Linked DNA regions of Homo sapiens: all the other regions are linked to region 1. The links are contacts of gene promoters, found by promoter capture Hi-C in blood cells and fetal thymus (Javierre and others, 2016). All regions are on one chromosome and are shown on one strand. Each heading gives the region's core, a stretch centred on a gene start or on the middle of the fragment in contact. The rest is flanking DNA. Distances are from core to core; before and after follow the strand shown. Region 1 holds the start of INO80C (INO80 complex subunit C). Region 2 overlaps LOC105372063 (a long non-coding RNA gene). Region 3 has its middle 42 kb from the start of ZNF396.

Region 1 (4,520 bases), core at 982-3,481:
AGTCGCAGGCTGGGAGCAATTACTCACAATACATACATCTGGCAAAGGAGTCTAATCAAGAAAGATAATGTAATGAACTTCTACACATCAATATAATTTTTTTTTAAAAGCCAATTAGAAAAAAATAATTAGGCACTCCACAAAAGATCTGGAATGTCCAACAAGCTCATGAAAAGTGATTGATATCATTAGCCATCAGAGAAACAAATTAAAACAAGGAGATACTACTACACACTCAACAAAATGGCTAAAAGTTAAAGACTGACAATGAAAGACTGACAATACTCTGTATTGTTGAGGATTTCGAGCAACTGGCACTCTCATACTTTGCCGGTAAGAATGCAAAAACAGTGCAACTACTTTGAGAAATACTGTTTAACAGTTACTGAGTTAAATGTATGCCTACCTTCTGACTCAGCAATTCCACTACTTCTCAAGAGAAATGAAAGCATCTATCTACACAAAGACTTGTACAAGAATGTTCAGAGCAGCTTCTGCACAAAGCCAAAAACTGTAAACGTTCAAATATTCATCGGGTGTATGTTTATACAATGCAACAGATGTACTAAACGACTCTCAAAAACATTGTCTCAAAAAGGAACCTAGACAGATGCAAAAGAATATGTTCCCTATTGTCCTGTATTATTCCATTTATATTATGTTCCAACCCAAAGTCAGTCTATTGTGAAGGGTGGCTGAACAGTGGGTAACTGTTAGGAAGGAAAGACAGTACTGACAGGAAAATGTCACCTGCTCTTAGAAATGCTATCTTGATCCAGGCAGTGGCCATAGGTGTATACAAATGTAAAAGGGCACTGGATCTGTAGTTTTGTTTTGTTTTGTTTTGTTTGCGATAGGCTCACTCTGTTGCCCAAGCTGGACTGCAATGGCACGATCATAGCTCGCTGTAACCTTGAAATCTTGGGCTTAAGTGATGCTCTTGTAGTTGGGACTAAAGGCGTGCACCATCACGCCCAGCTATTTGTAAATTTGGATGGGGGTTGGGGAGCAGGTCTCGAACTCCTGTCCTCAAGCAATCCTCTCACCTTGGCCTCTCAAAGTGCTGGGATACAGGCGTGAGACAGGATTCTTGAAGATCTGTGGTTCAGCCAGTATTCTTGAAAATTTGTGCATTGTACTCTGTGTAAATCTTACTATAGCAAAGTATTTAATATTAAAAGGTTAAAATAAAAAGCACTACCAATCACCTACAGAAGAAGGAACAAGATTTCTAGAACAGCCACTGACTGACTGGGTGAACGGTGGTGTCACACCATATGCTGAGGAGCACAAAGTAACACACTCTATCTCTGCTTTTTTGCTTTGAATAAAATGCAGGAGCCAGAGAAAACACTAATCAAGCCACTCCCTGCTGAAAATTCATTGCTGGAATTACGGAACCTAGATTGTTCAGAGGCCCTGACGTCTGAGCCAGGCGCTGAGCTCAGTGCCTTTACACTCATTACTTCATAACCTTAACAAGCCCATGAGTTAAGACCAAACCTGCCTTTGGATTGGGAAACCCAGGGTCAAAAAAGCACTTTTCTCAGGATGAGAGAAAGCATACTTATCAATACATCTTGTATTCATCCATGCAGGACATTACAGCGCTATGCGCCTCAAAGACACTGGGTAGATGTCTGCAGAATGGACGAGGGGAAGACACGCAAATTTCTGAATGACTGACACTCATTAGTCCTGAACCTCATGCTAAAGGCGACCTCGAGGGGAAGAGGCAGTCCTTCTATTAATACTAAGTCAGTAATAACCTCCCTACTTCTTCTTCTCTCCTTACAACACAAGGCGTTGTAAGCCCATGTGTCCAAACGAAGGGAAAGAGTAGTCATTCACTCCGCGGGGCAGCGTCTTTCAACCCCAACGGAGACCGCACGCGCAGCGCCCCACATTACGCACGCGCCCTGGCTCGGCTCCGCCCCGCCAAGTCCCGTTTCGCGACGCGCACGCGCAGCCTGGGAGCGCGACTGCGTACCTGCGCAAAGCTGGAAGCGGACGCTTTTTTCTTCTTACTGGCGCCATAGCCCCCGCCGCTGCTGCCATTGTGGGAAGGGCTGGCCGGCCTCTTCTTGCTGTTCCGGACTATTCCGGGAGTGGAAGTGGTGGCCACAATTGGAATTTGCGCCGCCATCGCACTCCGAGTCTTCCCCTGGTCCCCCCACCTTTTTCCCAGCGCGGGCCTTGGAACTTCCTTTCCGCTGTTACTTCCGTCTTGATGCTTGAAAACCCGGCCTGGACTCCAAGCTGTAGCTGGCTTCTCTCGGTGCAATCTAAAAGGCGGAGCTCGGAGTAGCCTGTGCCGTCGGGACGGGAAGATGTCAGCGGGCGTTGTCCTGCCACTCGGGCGCTCTGGGCGTGGGCCTTGGGTGGGGCACGTGCCTGGAAATCCCCATTGATAGAGGAATAGAAAATCTCCCAATCTTTTTAAGTAACTACGTTTTAAAAAATTAATGAGCGTGTTGTCTTTTCTCATATAGAAGAGTGATTACTTTTGATGTCTGTAAGCCTAAAGCTGGGGTCGTTCTCAGTAGACCGCCAAGCTACTGGCTTCTCCCTCTATCCCTCCCTGCCTTCCCACGCGGAAAAGGTTTGTATATAAATAGCGCCCAAATGGACATGAAGGGTAGAGTGGTTCTTAATCTCTCCCTTTTTTTTTTTCTTTTATTTGAGACGGAGTTTCGCTCTTGTTGTCCAGGCTGGAGTGCAATGGCGCGATCTCGGCTCACTGCAAACTCCGCCTCCCGGGTTCAAGCGATTCTCCTGCCTCAGCCTCCCGAGTAGCTGGGATCACAGGCATGTGCCACCATGCCCGGCTAATTTTGTATTTTTAGTAGAGACGGGGTTTCTCCATGTTGGTCAGGCTGGTCTCGAGCTCCCGACCTCAGGTGATCTGCCCGCCTCGGCCTCCCTAAGTGCTGGGATTACAGGCGTAAGCCACCACGCCCGGCCGGTTCTTAATCTCTTAGGATTCACAGACTCTTGAGCATGGAATCTGTGCTTCCTATCCCTGCCGCACACCCCCACCTCCCCACCACCCCATTAAATGTATACAGACACAGACAAAATTTTACAGATTTCAGGGAGGTCACAGATCTACTAAAACCTATTTAGGAACCTGAGTCCCCCTACCCGCCTTGTTCTTTGCCTCATTCTACCCTATATTTTTACAGAACCTTTGCGACATCATATAACTAAATGATTTATAATCGGATGGTTAATGTCTTTTTTGGCTCCTGCTAGAATGTAATCTGTATGAGGGAAGGGTCAGTTATGTCTTGTTAACTTATCAGTCCCCCCAATCACAGTACCTTGCAAGTCATTGGTGCATTATAAGTATTTTTAATGATGTATTTAACGAATGAACTAACTCCCTGCAGTGATTGGTGGAAGCTACTATGTTTGAATACAGGAAGTTGATGTATATGAGTCTTGATATTTGAAATAAACAGGCTGCACAATGACTTAGAGGTGAGAGAGAAGGAGCAGTTAGGGAAACTTGCAATATTGTTACTGACATATTTTTTCCTTTAGAGAAAGGAATAAGCCTACCAGTGTTGAAATGTTCTTTCCCACACCCCATCTCCATCCCTATCCTCATCTAAAGCTAGTCTTTTCCTCATTCCTTAACTCAAGGACTCACCTCCAACAAGCCAGTCACCTAAGCAAACTCTACTGTCCCCACCTCCTCCCATTCCTCACCTCCTCAGCTCGCTTCTCTCCTTCACGGCTCCTGCCCTGGTGAATCTGTATCCCATGTCTACATCTCAGCAACAGCCTCCAGATGGACGTTTCGGCCGCCATCTTTCCCTTATCCATTCCTGACCCCAGACCATCCTTCACACTGGCTGCCAGAATGGGATTTCTAAATTACAAATATAATCATACCACTTACTTTCTTACATTCTTCAGGGCCCTTTTGCCTTCAGGGTAAAATTTTTTTTTTACCTTCAGGGTAAGAACGTTTTGGCTTGTCATACAAGGTCCTTAATGACTGGGCTCTGGGCCGGGCGCGGTGGCTCACACCTGTAATCCCAACACTTTGAGAGGCTGAGGCGGGCAGATCACAAGGTCAGGAGATAAAGGCCATCCTGTCCAACACGGTGAAACCTCGTCTCTACTAAAAATACAAAAATTAGCTGAGTATGGTGGCATGCGCCTGTAATCCCAGCTACTCAGAAGGCTGAGGCAGGAGAATCGCTTGAACCCGGGAGATTGCAGTGAGCAGAGATCGTGCCACTGCACTCCAGCCTGGCAACAGAGCAAGACTCCGCCTCAAAACGACAACAACAACAACAACAACAACAACTGGGCTGTGCCCCATTCTGTTGCTTGGTTCCCAACACTTAATTCCTTGTGTTCCAGCCAAGGACTAACTCTATTTCCTAGAATGTATATGTTTTCTTAGCTTGTCATATTTTTGTTTCTATTATTTCCTCTCCTGGGAATGCTTAGCTCCTTGCCTGATTACCATCCATTTTGCCTCAGTTCAGATGCTACTTCCAATG
Region 2 (4,520 bases), core at 749-3,248, 98 kb before region 1:
GATTGCAATCAGCTGATGACTAAATTAGAGGAGCAGAAAGGAGGCATTAAGTAGAGACGTTTGTGATAGGATAAGACTCTGAAACAGCAACTTCTGATGATGCTGTTCTCAGTAAATTTCCTTCTCACCTCATAGCCTTTCTATCACTCAAGTCATGAGCCTGAAGTGGGTATTGTTTCAAGGGACAGAAAAGCTTAGAGTTTTTCCAAATAGTTTTTTTAACCACATAGTGGGAACAATAGTCTTTAAAACCAATATTTTAAAAATTCCAATAGAACATTTATCTTTTTAAATAGTGGGCTTTTTGAGAAATTTCCTCATTCCTTTCCTTTCTTTTCTTGAGTTATAAAAATTCATCTTTGAAAATTCAAAGCTGACATCTGAAGGATCTCAAATACAAAGTTCATAGCATAAACAATAGTTAGTGGGGAAAATGCATGCTAGCATGAGTTAAAGTGTGACAGGCTAGTAGAATGAGAAAACTAGAAAACGGGAAGGCAGGTGACTAAAGCTTAGGAGCTGGTGGCTTTCTGAGCAGGCACCATTAGATGCCTGCCCAATAGCAGTTCTCTCTTTTTGAAACCAGTCATTGTAATCCAACTCCTTCTCTTTTTATTACCTACTTACATTTCCAGCCTCATTTGTTGCTAGGATGAATGGCCAAGAGATCCAGTTATTAGCAATGAGAACAAAGGAAAAAATGACCTGGAAAGCATTTGGGAAAGACTTTGCTCCTGATAAAAGGAAAGCCCTTTCCCCCTTGCCATTTTCTTCCTGACTTCAATGCAGTTGTGTAAGAAAGTGATGCTTGAAGCTGCACGGTTTGGAAATCATGAGATAATAAAGCAAAAAATGAAATGCAAGCACATTGAGAATGGCAGGTGTGGTAGACAGACTAATGTTCTCCAAAGATGGCCATGTTCTATCCCTGAAACCTGTGACTATGTTATGTTGCCTGGCATGGGGGAATTAAGATTGCAGATGGAATTAAGGTTGCTAATTAACTAACTTTAAAAATAAGAAATTATCTTGGATAATCCTGGTGGGTCCAGTGTAAGCACAGGGTCTTTAAATGGAAGAGGGAGGCAGAAGAAGAGGTTGGAGTCAGAGAAACGAATGTGCTACATTGCTGGACGTGAAGGTGGAAGAAGGGGCCATGAGCCATGGAATGTAGGCGATCTCTAGAAGCTGGAAAAGACAAGGAAACAGATTCTCTCATGTAGCCTCTAGAAGGCTCCAAGGCTGTTGGCACAGCCCTGACAACACCTTTGTTTTAGCCAAGTTAGACCATTTTACACTTCTAACTTCTAGAACTGTAAAACAATAAATTCATGCTGTTTTAAGTCACCACGTTTGTGGTAATTTGTAACAGCAGCAGTAGGAAATGAATACAGCCACTCAAGGGCAAAACACCTCCCAGCCCCCCATGCAGCAAGGTGTGACCATGTGTGTAAGTAACTTCCCACTCATATCCTGAAAAGAAAGCTCCTTGCTCTCAGCTTACATTTTATTTCTATAAAGTAGAAAATGGTCATGCAAATGATTGGCCTATTTCTACCTGGTAGATGTGAACAACCCTGTAGGGGTTGGCTGAAGCCACAGATAGAATAACCTGGATCCCTGAATAATAGTAAGTTGCAGAGACACATACACTCCTTGTTCACCCACCTACTGAGACTTTCACACCAAGGGGAAATAAACTCTCTGTCTTGTTTAAGTCACTGTTATTTAGCATGTACAGAAGTCTTGTAGCTAATATCCTGTATTTCTCTTGGAAACATAGAATTGAGCAGACAAAAAACTCAGCAAAAATTTAGAAGATTTGAACAATTCAATTAATAAACTGGATTTCTATACAGAATATAGAATATATATTTAATATATACAGAATATACAGAATACTGCACCCAACAACTGCTGAATACATTTTCTTTTCAAGGACGCATGGAATCTTCACCAAAACTGACCATATGCTGGGCTCTAAAGTAAGTCTCAACAAATCTCACAGGGTTGAAAATCATACACAATTTTCACAGGATTAAAATTATACAGAATGTTTGCTTACCACAATGCAATTAAGCTAGAAATTAATTACAAAATTACAAAAAGACAACTTTAAAAATATTCTTATGTTTGGAGATTATAAAATATATTTCTAAATAATCCATGTGTCCAAAAATAATTTACAATGAATATTATAAAACATTTTAAATTAAATGGTGATATCTTGAATCACCAAGAGTAGATTTTAAATGTTCTCACCACAGTGATAAGTATGTAAGGTAATGAGTATGTTAATTAGCTTGATTTAGCCATTCTACAATGTATACATATTTCAAAACATCACGTGGTACATGATGAATATATCCAATTTATTTGTCAATTTAAAGTAATTTAAATATAAATTAAAAATACTAAAATGAATAACAATTAACTCCCAATTAAAATAAGTAAATGGTAGTAAAATACTACACATTAAAATGTAAGATGTAGCTAAGGCAGTACTGAAAAGAAAACTTGTAATCTTTAGTGCATAAAAGGTGAAAATTAACAAAGAAAGCATTCATTTCAAAAGGTTAGAAAAGGCACAATAGGCTGGGTGCCGTGGCTCACGCCTGTAATCCCAGCACTTTGGGAGGCCGAGGTGGGCGGATCACGAGGTCAGGAGATCGAGACCATCCTGGCTAACATGGTGAAACCCCGTCTCTACTAAAAATACAAAAAATTAGCGGGGCGTGGTGGTGGGCGCCTGTAGTCCTAGCTACTCGGGAGGCTGAGGCAGGAGAATGGCGTGAACCCGGGAGGCGGAGCTTGCAGTGAGCCGAGATGGCGTCACTGCACTCCAGCCTGGGCGACAGAGCCAGACTCCGTCTCAAAAAAAAAAAAAAGAAAAAGAACAATAAAATATAGCAAAATACAGTAGAAGAAAGAACATATTAGAAATAAAATAAAAACAATAAAAAAAGAAAACATACAATAAAATGATAAATACAATAAAAATGTATTACATTTTTATTGTAATACAATACATAATGTATATGTGTATGTAATACAATACATAATGTAATGTGTATGTAATACAATACATACAATAAAAATGATAACAAAGCTATAGTTCTTTCAAAGACATCCAATCAATAAACCACTGGTGAGACCCTTCAAGAAAAAAAGAGAAGACACAATTAATAAGAGTGACTGTAATTTATGTCTACACCAGGGCATGTTTACACTGAGAAAGGCCACTGAATGTAATTATATACTTTTTTGAAACCTTTATTAATTAACAAATTAATTTTATTATACCAGTGAACCTATAAAATACTTTTATTCAAAAACTATTCTCAAAAATTCTTTTTTAAAAAATAAAAAGAGTATGTATAGCAAAGCAGTCACTGAATTTTTTTGACAGGTGCATTTTTTTCAACATGATCATATTATTTTTAGCACCTATATAAAATTGCCTGCAATCCTTTTTTAAAGCTGGAAGAAGCTTTGAAGGAGCTTCAAAGCTTCCTCAGCTATGATCAATTTATAGTTGGATTGGGTTGGGTTCTTTCGGAAACAGATTCTGAGATGAAGTTGACCGAGCAGTCTGTTTGAGGAATGTCTTTGGGATCAATGTGTGCGGGAGGAAAAGGAAGGAAAGGTGAGAGAGCAAAGGGCCGGATGGGCTGTGATACAACCCAATGGCAGCCTTAATCAACCCCACAGGGAACTCTGCTATTAAAATGACCTGTCAGAGTTGTCCTGTTTGTGCCACAATGTCCAGATCTTTACCCCCCCACCAGTTGTTGAATATGGACCACTGGAGGAAGAACAGGACCTTAGGCAAGGCAGCCCTCCAGCTGAGAGAGGCCCTGAAAGCATTGTATCTGTCACCAGCCCTGTGGCCAAAAGTCGTGATGGAAGCTGCTCAGTGCACATGTGTCTTATACGCTACTGGGCCACATCATGGCTGAAGCCTGAATGAATTCCAAAGTGAAAATTGACCAAAACCATTATGGCTTATTTAAATTCAACTATTGATGATAGTTAAATTTTGTTTCTCTAGGGAAAAATGCTAAACTAAATAGGATGCCAGGAAAATAGATATAAACTGGGACTGTCCCATACACATCAGGTCCATTTCAGGCAAATCGAGATGTATGATAGCCCTATGAATAACTGGCATTAGAAATGAGAATGGAGACATGGTTACAGATTGGCAGAGATTAAAAGAATAACAATTTGAAATTTAGAAATATTCATTTGAAATTCCTTGAAAATACAATTTTCCAATTTACTGATAGAAGTAGAAATAGGAAACATTAAATGCCCAATACTGCTAAGGAAATTGAATCTATAATTTTAAATCATCCCCCCACCCCACAAAAACTACAAGCCTAGATAGTTTCACTAATGAAATCTTCCCGAACATTTAAAGAGGAAATAGTGCCAACCTCAAACATTCTTACAGATGTTAGAAAAATAGAAAATATTCTCATTCTTATTTTATAAGGCCAGGATAACCCTGAAATGCC
Region 3 (4,520 bases), core at 944-3,443, 79 kb before region 1:
GGCGTGTGCCTGTGGTTCCAGCTACTCAGGAGGCTGAGGTGGGAGTATCACTTCAGCCTGGGAGTTCGAGGCTGCAGTGAGCCATGATCATGCCACTGCATGCCAGCCTGGAGGATAGAGTGAGACCATGTCTCAAAAAAAAATTGACTAATCTATTTGAGAATCTTTAGTATTCTACTACATTTTAGAATAAGTTTGCCAAATCTTTAAAAAAAATCTTGTTGCAACTTTAGTAAGGATTACATTTAATTTACAGATTAGTTTGGAAGAAACAACTTTGTAAAGTGTTCTCATTACATCCTTGTACATTTATGTAAATATTCTTTTATTTCATAATTAAAAGCTTTATAGAAATAAAATTGTCATACAAACCGTGCATATGTTTAAAACACACAAATTGGTAAGTTTTGACATACGGATTAACCCATGAAACCATCACAAATATCAAGATAGTGAACAAATCCATAATCCCCTCAGACTTCCTTGTGTCCTTTTGTAATTCCTTTCTCCCATCTCTCTCCACATCCCTGTCTTTGTGTAACCTGTGATGCCCTCTCATCACTATAGATTAGTTTGCATTTTCTAAAGTTTTTAGTTAATGGAATCATACAGGAGGTACTTTTTTGTCTGGCTTCTTTCATTTGGCATGATAATTTTGAGATTCATCCATCTTGTAGCACGAATCAACAATTCCTTCCTGTTTATTGCTGAGTAGTATTCCACTGTATGGATATACCACAATTTATTTACCCATTCACTGGTCAGTGGACAGTTGAGTTGTTTTCAGTTGTTGGCTATTACAAATAAAGCTTCTATGAACATTTGCATAAAATTGTTTGCAGGAACATATGCTTTCTTTTCTTTTGGGTAAGTACATGGGAAAGAAATGATTGGGTTAGAGGGTAGGTATATGTTTAACTTCTTAAGAAGTTGCCAGACTGTTTTTCAAAGTGTTGGTATAATTTTACATTCCCACAAGCAGTGTAAGAGTTCTAGTTCCTTCAAATCCTTACCAGCAGGTTGTATGATTAGTCTTTTTAATTTTAGCCATTCTAGCAGGAGTGCAGAGGTATCTTATTGTGGTTTTAATTTTCATTTTCCTAATTACAAAGATGTTGGGCATATTTTGCTTATTTGCCATTCATGTATCCTCTTCAGTGAAATGAGTGTTTAAGCCTTTTGCCTACTTTTAAAATTGGTTTGTCTGTTTTTCTTTTATTGTGCTTTGAGAAGTCTACATATATTCCAGATAGAAGTTCTTTATTATATATGTAATTTACAAATATTTTCTCCTAGTCTCTGGCTTGTATGTTCATTCTCATAACAGTCTCTTGAAGAACAACTGTTTTATGGATGAGGTCTACTTTATCAAATTGTTCTTTTATGAAACGCGTCTGTATGTAAAGGAATTGTGTATATAAGAAGTGTGGTGTGTAAGTGTTGTATATAAGTCTTTGCTTAACTCAAGTTTATGATGAACATTTCATGTTTTCTTCTAGAGGTTTTGTGGTTTTAGGTTTTAAATTAAGGCCTATTTACTACTTTTCTACTGCAGCATAACAAATTACCAGAAATGTAGCAGCTTAAAACAATGCAAATTTATTATCTTACTGTTTCTATAGGTTAGAAATCCAGCATGGCATGACTGTATTCTTTGGGCTAAAATCAAGTTATTGGCTAAAGCTGCAGTTCTGTGTCTTTGGGTCCTCTTCCAAGCAAACTAAGGTCTTTGGCCAATTTCAGTTACTTGTGTAATTACTTCAGTAAGTAATTACATTCATTTGGCTTGATAATTTTGAAATTCATCCATCTTGTAGCATGAATCAACAGTTCCTTATTACTTCAAGAAGTAATTACACAAGTAATTGAAGTTGGCCAAAGTAATTACTTATTGAAGTAATTCAATTACTTATGGTCATACGACTGAGATCTCTGTTCCTTGCTGGCTATTAGCCAAGGGCCTTTCTCTCAGCAATTTAAGGCTGTCCGTATTTCTTCTCACATGGCCAAGCTCCATCTTCAAACAAGCAATGGTACACTGACTCTTCATGCTTTGACTCCCTCTAACTTCCATTTCTGTCTTTTTCTTCTGCTTTTAAGGACACATGTGGATTACATTGGAACCACGTGGAAATCCAGGGTAGCCTCCCTATTCTAAGTCAGCTGATTAGTAACCTTAATTACCTCTGCAAAGTCATTTTTGCTATGTAACATATTCAGTCTTGGGGATCAGGGTATAGAAACTTTTTGGTGGACGTAATTCTTCTTACCACAGTCAATGACCCTGATATGGTTTAGCTGTGTGTCCTCACCCAAATCTCATCTCGAATTTTAATCCCCATGTGTTGAGAGAGGGAAGTGACTGGATTATGAAGGCCATTTCCCCCATGCTGTTCTCGTAATAGTGAGTGAATTCTCATGACATCTGATTGTTTTATAAATGGCTATAAATGGTAGTTTTTCCTGCACTCTCACACATTCTCTCTCTCGCCTGCAACCGTGTAAGACATGCCTGCTTCCCTTTCCACCATGATTTTAAGTTTCCTGAGGCCCCAGCCATATGGAACTGTGAGTCAGTTAAACCTCTTTTCTTTATAAATTACCCAGTCCAGGGCAGTTCTTTATAGCAGTGTAAGAATGGACTAATATAGATCCATTTTGTGTTAATATTTATATATAGTGTGAAGTATGAATAGTTCATTTGTTTTCATGTGGATATGCAATTGTTCCAGCATCATTTGTTAAAAAGGCTATCTGCAATGATCTGGATGTGTCCTCCCAAAATTCAGATGTTGAAATTTAATCACAAATCTGACAGTATTGAGAGGTGGGACTTTTAGGAAGTGATTAAGTCATGAGGCAGAGATGCCATGAATGGGATTACTGCCCTTATAAAAGAGGTTGAAGGGAACAGCCTTGACCTGCCATGTGAGGATGCAGTAACAAGGTGCCACCTTGGAAAAAGAGATCATTCCCTCACCAGACACTAAATCTGATAGTGCATTGATTTTGGACTTCCCAGCCTCCAGAACTGTGAGCAATACATTTCTATTATGTATAAATTACTCAGTCTAAGGTATTTTTGTTATAGCTGCCTGAATGAACTAAGATACTTTTTCTCTACTGGATTTCCCTGTACCTTTGTCAAAAATCCTTTGTCAATGTATGTTTGGGTCTATATCTGGACTCTGTATTCTGTTCCATTTATCTGATTGTTTATTGCTATGCCAATACAACACTGTTTTGACTATCACAGCATTACAGTGTCTTGAAGTCTGGTAGAGTTAACCGCAATTTTTCTCTTATTTTTCAAAGTTGTTTGAATATTTCAGGTTTTTGCATTTCTATGTGAATTTTAGAATCAAAATATCAATTTCTATATGAATAATACTGGATTTTGAGATTGAATTGAATATATAGATTAATTTAGGGAGAATTGACATCACAACTATATGTTGTGTTTTCTTACCACCGAACAAAATATAATCTCCTTTTATTTAGATTTTCTTTTATTTATCTCAGCATTGTTTTATATTTTTCAGTGTAGAGCTCTTTCACATCTTTTGTCAGATGTATCCCAAGCTTTTCATTTTTTGGAAACATTGTATTTTAATATCAATATATGATTGTTCATTCCTAGTATATAAAAAAGGAATTTATTTTTGTTTCCGTTTCTTACTTTTCTTTCTTATTGCACTGGCCATAATCTCCTGTGCAATGTTAAATGTTGTCCTTGTCCTGTTCCTAATATTAGGGGAAAGCCTTCAGTCTTTCACCATTAAGTATAATGTTAACTCTAAGTCTTTCATAGATGGCCTTTATCAGGTTGAAGAATTTCCCTCATATTCCTAGTTTGCTAAGATTTGGATTTTTTTTCACAAAAAAACAAACAAAAAAGCCCACAAGAATCAGCTGGGCACAGTAGCTCACACCTGCAATCTCAGCACTGGGAGGCTCAGGTGGGCAGATAGCTTGAGTTCAGAAGTTTGAGACCAGCCTGAGCAACATGACAAAACCCTGTTTTTACCAAAAATACAAAAATTAGCCAGGCAAGGTGGTATGTGCCTGTGGTCCCAGCTACCTAGAAGACTGAGGTGGGAGACCCACCTGAGCCTGGGAGGTGGAGATTGTGCCAAGACCCAAGATCACACCACTGCACTCAAGCCTGGGCAACAAAGTGTAAACCCATCTCAAAAAAAAAAAAACCCACAAAAATTGATGTTGGATTTTGTCTAATGCTTTTTCTGTGCTATTGAGATGATTATATGGTTTTTGTTCTTTCTGCTGATATGATGTGTCACATTTATTGATTTGAACCATCTTTGTATCCCTGGGATAAATCCCCCTTGATCATGGTGAATAATCTTTTTAATGTGCTGCTGGATTCAGTTTGCTAGTATTTCATCCGAGATTTTTGCATACTGGTCCATCAGAGACATTGGTGTATAGTTTTCTTTTTTTGTTGTATTTTTGGTTTTGGTATCAGCGGAATGTTGACCTCATAGAATGAGTTTGGAAGT

What was found. The method cuts DNA at HindIII sites, captures the fragments that hold promoters and counts their contacts. A CHiCAGO score of 5 or more calls a contact.
Region 2: a contact is called between a fragment that was not itself captured here and the fragment with the promoter of INO80C in region 1, in 1 of 17 cell types (M2 macrophages). The highest score is 6.2, in M2 macrophages.
Region 3: a fragment that was not itself captured here is called in contact with the fragment with the promoter of INO80C in region 1 in 1 of 17 cell types (M2 macrophages); the score reaches 6.3 in M2 macrophages.

Annotation. Positions count from the first base shown.
Region 1 is chr18:35,495,729-35,500,248 of GRCh38, forward strand. It overlaps INO80C (INO80 complex subunit C), which reads right to left and starts at 2,232. Exons shown (of 5, transcript NM_194281.4): 1 at 1,991-2,232. The coding sequence starts at 2,146. RefSeq lists enhancers at 1,250-1,399, 1,670-1,789, 2,140-2,409. The HindIII fragment of the contact is 4,638 bases long and covers 1-4,520 here.
Region 2 is chr18:35,398,445-35,402,964 of GRCh38, forward strand. All of the region lies in intron 2 of LOC105372063 (a long non-coding RNA gene), which reads right to left. Among named protein-coding and RNA genes, the nearest start is that of ZNF396, 23 kb to the left of the region's middle. The HindIII fragment of the contact is 2,979 bases long and covers 510-3,488 here.
Region 3 is chr18:35,416,696-35,421,215 of GRCh38, forward strand. No RefSeq gene overlaps it. Among named protein-coding and RNA genes, the nearest start is that of ZNF396, 42 kb to the left of the region's middle. The HindIII fragment of the contact is 2,773 bases long and covers 808-3,580 here.